Regions from separate parts of the Homo sapiens genome. Here all the other regions are linked to region 1. Evidence: promoter capture Hi-C in 16 types of primary human blood cells and fetal thymus (Javierre and others, 2016). All regions are on one chromosome and are shown on one strand. Each heading gives the region's core, a stretch centred on a gene start or on the middle of the fragment in contact. The rest is flanking DNA. Distances are from core to core; before and after follow the strand shown.

Region 1 (2,700 bases), core at 193-2,692:
AGAATATCTTTTAACAGCAATTTGAATAAACCGACTCACATGCCACTGTGATTTAATGTGTGATTTGCTGCCGAATCAGCTGTGTTTGGCCAGCCCTTCTGTCTTCACATTTTTCATAGTGTTTATCCTTAAGCTTAGCAACCAACCAAACTTCGAGTGGAATATCAACATTCAAGAGTAAAATGTATTATTAGTTTTCTAATTGTTCCACAAGAGATTGAGTTTGTGTAGTTTACATTTTTGCACTTTCTGTTTTACTTATATCCTCAACGCATGAAATTTTGGCCTGTTCCCCTTTACTATTCACAAACTTCCAAACACTGGTAAAAATGCCTTTGTGTGTCTTTAATTCACGTAACAGATTTGTGTTATGTTAAATGTTAGTGAATATATAAACCTAAGAATACAAGGATAATTTTGTTAAAGAATCAAAAAGTATCAGGACATTCGTTTGTCTTATGGCAGAGACAAATTGAAGTTCCCCACCAAGATATACGTATTTTGGATTTGGGCCAGACAGCTAAAAAACCTGTTTCAACTTAAAACCCAAAAAGGTTTTAAGTTGAAAAAATAATGCTGACTTTTGCTGAAAGTAAATTTTAAACAAAGGTTTTTTTTTTTAATTTACTCCATTAAAAATGCATACATTTGGACAGAGCGAGACTCTGTCTCAAAAAAAAAAAAAAAAGCATACATTTGTAGTCACAGAATTAGTTTTTGTTTTGACCTTGAAAAGGACTTGAAAGTATTTACTCCAAACTTACTTTACACATACTAAAAATATAGTTTTTGAAAAAAGAAAGTTGATGTGGCTTTTCAGACAAGGGAATGGTAGGTAATGTTTTGCATCAGCTCCGGGTCTTGGGTGATCTCCACCAATCAGAGATCCTTCAGAGCTCGTAGGGTCTAGAAAGATCATTATTTTACACCCTCATTTTACAGACAAAGAACCTGAGACCTGCTAGAGTAAGTGACTTGGTTAAGATAGGGAGCGCTCCAGAGACCAGGTCCAAGATCTTCCCCCGTTTCACAATTAGAAGGCGGCTGTCTAGAGGTCATTCCCTTCCTTATGATCCTCATAAAGTTAATTTCCAGTCTCTTGGAGAGAGAACTGGACGATCGCCTGGCTTAGAAGTTTTCCTCCCTCCCCGAACCCCGTTTTCTCTTCCATTTCTTCCGGTCGCGTGTCCCCAGCGCCCACAGGTGGAAATCAACCGCCCGCGGGGTTGCGGGGCACAAAGAGGCAGCTAGCGGCTCCGCTGACCCCTTCCCGCCGGCCTGGACGAAGTCTGGGCTCGGGAGCCGCGTGATGCATCCCAAAGAAGGCGCAGAACAGCACGTGTTCTCCCCGGTGCCCGGGGCTCCCACACCACCGCCCAATCGCTGCGGCCGCCTAGTGCTCGGGCCGCGCCTGCCGGCCGCGGGGACTCCGGGCCCGGGTATTCGCGCCGCCGCCGCCCGCCATGCGCTTCCGCTTTGGGGTGGTGGTGCCACCCGCCGTGGCCGGCGCCCGGCCGGAGCTGCTGGTGGTGGGGTCGCGGCCCGAGCTGGGGCGTTGGGAGCCGCGCGGTGCCGTCCGCCTGAGGCCGGCCGGCACCGCGGCGGGCGACGGGGCCCTGGCCCTGCAGGAGCCGGGCCTGTGGCTCGGGGAGGTGGAGCTGGCGGCCGAGGAGGCGGCGCAGGACGGGGCGGAGCCGGGCCGCGTGGACACGTTCTGGTACAAGTTCCTGAAGCGGGAGCCGGGAGGAGAGCTCTCCTGGGAAGGTATTGCCAGCAGACGCCTGCCCCCGGCGCAGAGCGGGAGCTCCGGCCCGCACCCCCAACCGGGGCCTCGGCCTCGGGCAGGCCCCGCAGGCCCCGGCGGCGCGCGTCCCGGGCTTTTTGCCCGCGTCCCTGCGCACTCCCCGGGCGACCTGGGCTGACCCTGCTCTGCCGGCCACGCTGTCGCCGCCAGCCGCGCCTCCGGCTTCCTACTGATTCCCTAGACCCGTATAGCGCTCCCGGCCGCCTTCCCGCCCACTCTGTTGCCTGCCCCTCTGACCTGGTTTCCGCACATCCAGTCCTCAGCTTCTTTCCAACCGCGCCTGCGTCACGGGCCAGTGCCCTTCGTCTCCCGCCCGGGGCTCCCTTCGCCCTCCGAGTGCCCCTCGACCTCCGAGTCCCCCCCTTCGCGGGTCCCTTGGCTGCCCGGCCGCGCGCCGCTGATGGCTTCAACAGCCCAACTCCGCCTTGGTTGGGTTTTGTGTCCTCATTTTCCTGCTCTAATTCACTAAAAAAAACCCAAAACGATCCAACCAACGAAACTAGCGTTTTCGCTAATCCTAGACAGCAATGTGCTACTTAGATTTTTTTCATAGATATTGAGAATGAACTAATGGAAAAACGTTGAATATTTCCCTTTTTGGATTTTTTTTTCTTTTTTAATCCCAGATATATGACAATTGAGACATGACCTGATTTCTTAAAATACTAAAACAATACATGCTGGTTGTAAAATAATAATAAAGAAATGTACATAGTGAAAACTTACAGTGTTTCCTCCACACATCTTAAGCACACTGCTTGTACACATTTATGTATGTGATATATGCATATACTTTTTTTTTTTACAAAAATTGTATAGTAATTCTGAATTTTTGCTTTTCTTGCCTAACAATATGTTAGGGACATCTTTCACTGTCACTACACGTAGATATGTAT
Region 2 (2,728 bases), core at 53-2,552, 1.0 Mb before region 1:
TTTCATGACTAAATCAATTTATTATTAAATATTTAAATATCAACTTATTCAAATGTAAAGTGCATGTTTAAACATTTAGGGTGACATACCTTTGGTATTACTTTTCTTTAAGTCTTTCAGTGCTTGAACAAATGTCAGCTGGCTTTCAGTGAGAGGCCAACTGTTATACAACACCGAACACTGTATAATATACTTGTAATTCTGTGAAATAAAATGCAGTGTTTAAAAATGATAAGAACATACATGGTATGTGCCTAATGTCATTTATTATGCTAGGTACATGATAAATGCAGAATTTTCCAGATCAGACAGTCATAATTTAGTTAAATCATGCTGGATGTTCTCCAAAACTCTGTAACGCTACACTTTATAAAAGTTTAATAGCCCCACATCCCCACCAACACCTGCCACTACCCAACTTTATAATTTTTGTGAGTGCAGTGGGTATAAAGTGAAATCTCACTGCTATTGTATTTTGCATTTTTAAGATTACTATAAAGTTTGAGTATTTTTTCAAAGCTGTTGGCCTTTAGGGTTTTCTCTTCTTTGTGATCATGACACAGAAAAAAATAGTCTCCTACATTATCTATTATTATATTTAGGGATTAAAATTTTACAATTAAATGTTCACTATATCTGGAATTCACCTTTATGTATGATGTTAGCTAGTGATCTAGTTTTATTTCTCTCCATGGAGATGTAATTTTCCTAGTACAACCTACTCAATAGTCCATCTTTTCTTCATTGGTTTATGGTGTTGCCTCTATTCTATATGAAATTTTCATAAAAATATGGATCTGTTTCTATCTTACTTTCTCTTATTGTTCCATTTACCTATGTATGCATTAATTAATACTATTTTTACTGCTATATCTTTTTGTCTTTGGAAATACTAAGACACACTTTGCTCTTTTTTCCCCAAGTTCCGTTAGCTATTTGTGAATTGCTATTCATTCCTATGAATTTTAAAGTATCTTTAGAAAATTTCAGAAAAATACAGTGGGAATTTTGATTGGGATTGCATTGAATTTAAAGGCAGATTGAGGATAACATATCTTTATACTGTTATGCCATCTTGCTGAAAAGCATGAAATGCTTCTCTATTTATTCAAGTCATCTGTGTCCATCAGTGGATTGGGTTACTTTCTGTAGCCTTTATTCAAGTGTTAAGCTTTTCTATGTGGAAAACTGATATATTTTTGGTTAATTCCTGGGTGTTTTCTGATTTTGTTGCTGCTATTATTAAAGGCATCATATTCTGATGTCTAATGCATAGTGCCGGTGTAGAGGAACACTACTGATTTTTGTTTAAGTTGTAGTAGCAGAACAGCATTGTGATTAAGGGCATGACCTCATGAGCTAGAGCTGTCTGGGTTGAAGTCCTGCTTTAGCACAAACCAGCTGTTTGGCCTTGAGGAAGTCACTTAAGCTTCCTGTCCTCCAGGTTCCTTGACTGTGAAATACAGATAATAAGAATACTTACTTCAAGAGGCTGAGGTGGGTGGGTCACCTGAGGTCAGGGGTTTGAGACCAGCCTGGCCAACATGGTAGAGAACCCCTTTGTCTACTAAAAATACAAAAAATATTAGCCGGGTGTGGGGGCATGTGCCTATAATCCCAGCTACTCCAGAGGCTGAGACGAGAGAATCACTTGAACCCCGTAGGTGGAGATTGCAGTGAGCTGAGATCACGCCATTGCCTGGACAATGGAGTGAGACTCTGTCTCAAAAAAGAAAAAGAAAAAAGTTGATGGGGAGAATTCAAGATCTATGTGTGAAGCACATAGTATCAGGTGCATAGTAAGTAATAAGTAAGTCAATATATTAGTTATTACTATTAATGTCTTTGGCAATCTTGCCAAAATCTCTTAGTTCTAAAGTTTGTTTATTCTGTTGTTTTTTCTTGGGCATATGATTATATTATCTGTGAGTAATTCAATGATTATTTAGAATAATCTTTTAATTATTTTGTTCTTTGTATCATTGTGGCTTTCCATTATCATAATAGTTCAGTATCATTAAATACTAACAATTATAGCAAGCATTCTTTTCTTATTCCAATTTTAATAGGAACACACTTACACTTCCCACATTAGTATAATGGTTTTGTATATGAGATTTGGCCATTAAGTGTAAAATTTTTGGCATGTAACATTTATGATGAAGAAGTTCTCTCCTATGCCTAGTTTGCTAAGAGCACATTTTAGAAATCCATAAATAGGTGTTAAACTTTGTCAAATGTTTCAGGATTATATGATTGTTCTCATCTAGTGTATTACTGTAGTGACTAATACTGATAGATTTTCCAATGGTAAAAGATTTCTGAATTTCTGAGAAGAATTCTGTCTGATTGCTTAATACACTGCTAGAATTGGATATCTATTATGTTATTTGCAATTTATCACCTATGTTTATAAATACATTTTATTCCTTTTTGTGTTACCTTTATCTGGTTTTGAAATCAGGATTACATTAATTTCTTAAAAAGGATTGAAAAGTTATATTGTTTGTTTTCCGTAAGAAATTACTTTTTAAAAGTCTATTGGACCTATCCTATAAAGCCAAAAGGGGGCCTATGGTTTTTTGGAAAGGGAAGACTTAGAGGACTTTGAATTATCGTTTCAATTTTATTATTCTTTACTGTTTTATTCAGATTTTCTATTTTCTTGTGAATCAACTCTGCGATTTCTCCTCTCCCCCACCCTCAGGAAGTTATGTGTTTCCCCCTC
Region 3 (2,926 bases), core at 56-2,555, 1.1 Mb after region 1:
GGTCCAAGAGCTTTCTAAAATGGCACTTGTGCTCTTGGAAGCCACAGGAATCATGTCTGATAGTGGCAGGCAGGGGTGCAGGTGTTTTCTCCTTGATCCCGTCTCACTTTTGTCTGTAATCTTGACCTGACTAGGAAGTGCAGAAACAAACGCAGAGTAGAGAAAGTAGTCTGTGTGGGTATCCATACAGCTCCCAGGAAACACACCTACAGCATCCATAGAGAGGGTTAGATGGAGGCAAACCCATCTACATACGCCATTTTTCTCCATTAAACCTCAACCTTCACACAGTTTCTGTACTAATCTAACCAAGACTTTCTCATGAAGCCAAGAAGAGACAACTCATATGATCAAGTGGGAATTCTAACTTGCAGACTAGAGGGTCATGACTCTGAGCTCCATGGTTCAAACAATCTATGTATGAGTTGGTTATTGAGAGAAACTGAGGGAATCCAAGAGTTGACCTTAAAATACACACATCTCAACAATCAGATCATGTTAAAGTAAATCTCCATTGCCCTGGATCACTTCAGGATTTAATTGTCCAAGGAGAGCAGGGTTCTCCTGTGAAAAAAAGGTGGGGAAATGTTTGAGAGTAAAAAATACAAAATTCAACCGGTCGAAAATACACCACTCCATTCAGTGTCTTCTAAAAAACCACATACTCAACCTTAACTACCTCTAAATACAGGGAGCTGTACATGTAGATGAAAAATAATATGTGACCTTACTTCATCAGTGAACATAAAAACCTGCTGAGAGATTAATGTGCCTTCATGTTCATTATCTATTTACTCATTAGCACTACAAGCAACTACATAGTTCTGTGTTGTCCACGTCCACACATGAAAACACACACACACAGCCACAAAGCAAGCCTTTTGTAGACATCACTGGTCAATCGTGACTTCCCAGGTGGAATCTTCTGGTCTCTTCTATTTTTCACAGAATATTCAGAAGTAGTTGCTTTAATACCACAGAAGACACAGTATTCCGGGGAAGACTTTGAGATCAGCACCACACTGAAAGCTCAAGCCCCCTAGAAGGCCAGGCTAAGAATAGCCATAGTTTCACTCTGTATGTAAATGACTAGTCACCAAAATCGTGTTGTGTATACCACATAGAGAAAAAGAATCAACTGTGGTACAAAAAGGCAACAGTAGAAAGTAAGAACAAAATTATACACTACTAATATTTAATACATGATTTCACCATGGCATATATGTATAATTTTTAAATGAATACACATCTATATACAGCTAGATGTTTAAAAGATTTTTGCTGAAGAAATATGATCAGAATAGTTTGGGGGGTGACTAAAACCACTTAAACTAAAATGATTTACATATACATTCAAGCAAATAGAAGTTATATCACTTAAATCAACATTTTCTAAAATGCTTGAGTCACGAAGGAGTCAATTTACAGCACTAAATATTTTTAAATTTTTCTCATTTTTCTATAATGTTCATATCCCAATCTACTTTACAGGAAACTGCTTTTTACCATGCCCTCAATTGCTAAATATTTTACAGAAATTGGCACTAAGAAAAAAATAAGGAGGACTTACAAAAATCTCTTCTGATTTAACATTAACACAAATAACCCAGTTCTAATCTAAAGACTTCATGATATAAAACACCCCAAAGTAATCACGTAACAATAAAAACAAATTAAATTCAATATTATTTTTCAAATCATTTACATCAGCTTTTTTTCTACTGTGCTCTACTAAAAGAAAAATTATTTTATAGGCATGAAAATTTTAAAGAAACTAAGCAAACAAAACCATATCTGAGAAAATTAGCATCCAGTGTAGGGTGATTTTAGGTCATCAGGGCAATTTCAATGCTGCTAATTATATCTCCAAGTAAGCAGCACTTACGTTTTTGCTTCCTGCTCAAATTTTATTGGATGTATAACCGAGAAGAAATATTTTTAAAGGCAAAAAATACACGTGAATGTGTAAATAGATTGTGGGAGGGGAGTATATTTTAACTCTGAGAGCTGTGACATGCCTTTTTTCATTCCTCCCTTCTCTTTGAAACATACAAGAAAACCCACAAAATGAGAATATTCTACACAAGTATCTACTCGTGTAACACACACACTATCTTCTGACAAACAAGAGAAGTATGAAAATAAGCAGAAAAGACGAGCTGCCACAGAGGGAAAAGTCTAACAAAAGACTAAACAAATAATACATAAAAAGAATGATCCTCAAGAGGAATTTAAAAGAAGATAAAAATATTCAGACACTGAATTTCAAAATGCCAATATGAATTTTAAATAGTCAAATTTCCCTCAGATTATGCCACATTTTATTCTCATTCATTTTGGTCTCTACATGTATTTACAATAGACTGTTTCTGTATTTTTATGGAGATACACAAACTTAAAGCATTTTTTTCTAAGAAACTAAATTTAGAGAATGTGGGAGGAATAAGGAGAAAGTCAAGACAGCATTTACAATTTAATGGGAAGGGAATTTACAGTGTCTTAAAGCAAATAAATGTCAAACCCATTTAAACTTTTAGGTATGACACATGGACTATTGATAATTAAAATACAATTAAGTATTTTTGGTTGGTATAGCTACCTCTATCAATATTTGAGATGGCAACTGTTAATATTTAAGTCTACAACTAAATTTTCATTTCATTACATTAATATAGCTCAATAACTTAGATCAGTTTTCAAAATATAACCACACAAATAAAATTTATCTGTTACTAGTTTATTTATTTCATAGTAATTGTGCCGCTTCCTAATCTGGATTTCCAGTTCTTTAGGCAAAATCTCCTATGTCACTGCCTTATACTGACACCTGCTGCAATGTACTGGAATTGTACATTTCTCATTGCGTTAATCAGGCAGTTGTTAATTTTGCATATGGGAAAGAATACGTGGAAGATAGTATTTCAAC

What was found. The method cuts DNA at HindIII sites, captures the fragments that hold promoters and counts their contacts. A CHiCAGO score of 5 or more calls a contact.
Region 2: a contact is called between a fragment that was not itself captured here and the fragment with the promoter of EPM2A in region 1, in 1 of 17 cell types (fetal thymus). The highest score is 5.6, in fetal thymus.
Region 3: a contact is called between a fragment that was not itself captured here and the fragment with the promoter of EPM2A in region 1, in 1 of 17 cell types (fetal thymus). The highest score is 9.9, in fetal thymus.

What each region holds. Positions count from the first base shown.
Region 1 is chr6:145,734,262-145,736,961 of GRCh38, reverse strand. It overlaps EPM2A (EPM2A glucan phosphatase, laforin), which reads left to right and starts at 1,442. Exons shown (of 4, transcript NM_005670.4): 1 at 1,442-1,764. The coding sequence starts at 1,464. EPM2A-DT (EPM2A divergent transcript) reads right to left here and starts at 2,093. Exons shown (of 3, transcript NR_038246.1): 1 at 2,042-2,093. RefSeq lists enhancers at 1,028-1,077, 1,098-1,147, 1,158-1,217 and a silencer at 1,378-1,967. The HindIII fragment of the contact is 8,125 bases long and covers 136-2,700 here.
Region 2 is chr6:146,766,493-146,769,220 of GRCh38, reverse strand. ADGB (androglobin) reads right to left here. Exons shown (of 36, transcript NM_024694.4): 29 at 90-201. The region is part of intron 1 of LOC105378040 (a long non-coding RNA gene); the gene reads left to right. Among named protein-coding and RNA genes, the nearest start is that of ADGB, 170 kb to the right of the region's middle. The HindIII fragment of the contact is 258 bases long and covers 1,174-1,431 here.
Region 3 is chr6:144,585,319-144,588,244 of GRCh38, reverse strand. The region is part of intron 51 of UTRN (utrophin); the gene reads right to left. Among named protein-coding and RNA genes, the nearest start is that of SNORA98, 180 kb to the right of the region's middle. The HindIII fragment of the contact is 3,913 bases long and covers 1-2,926 here.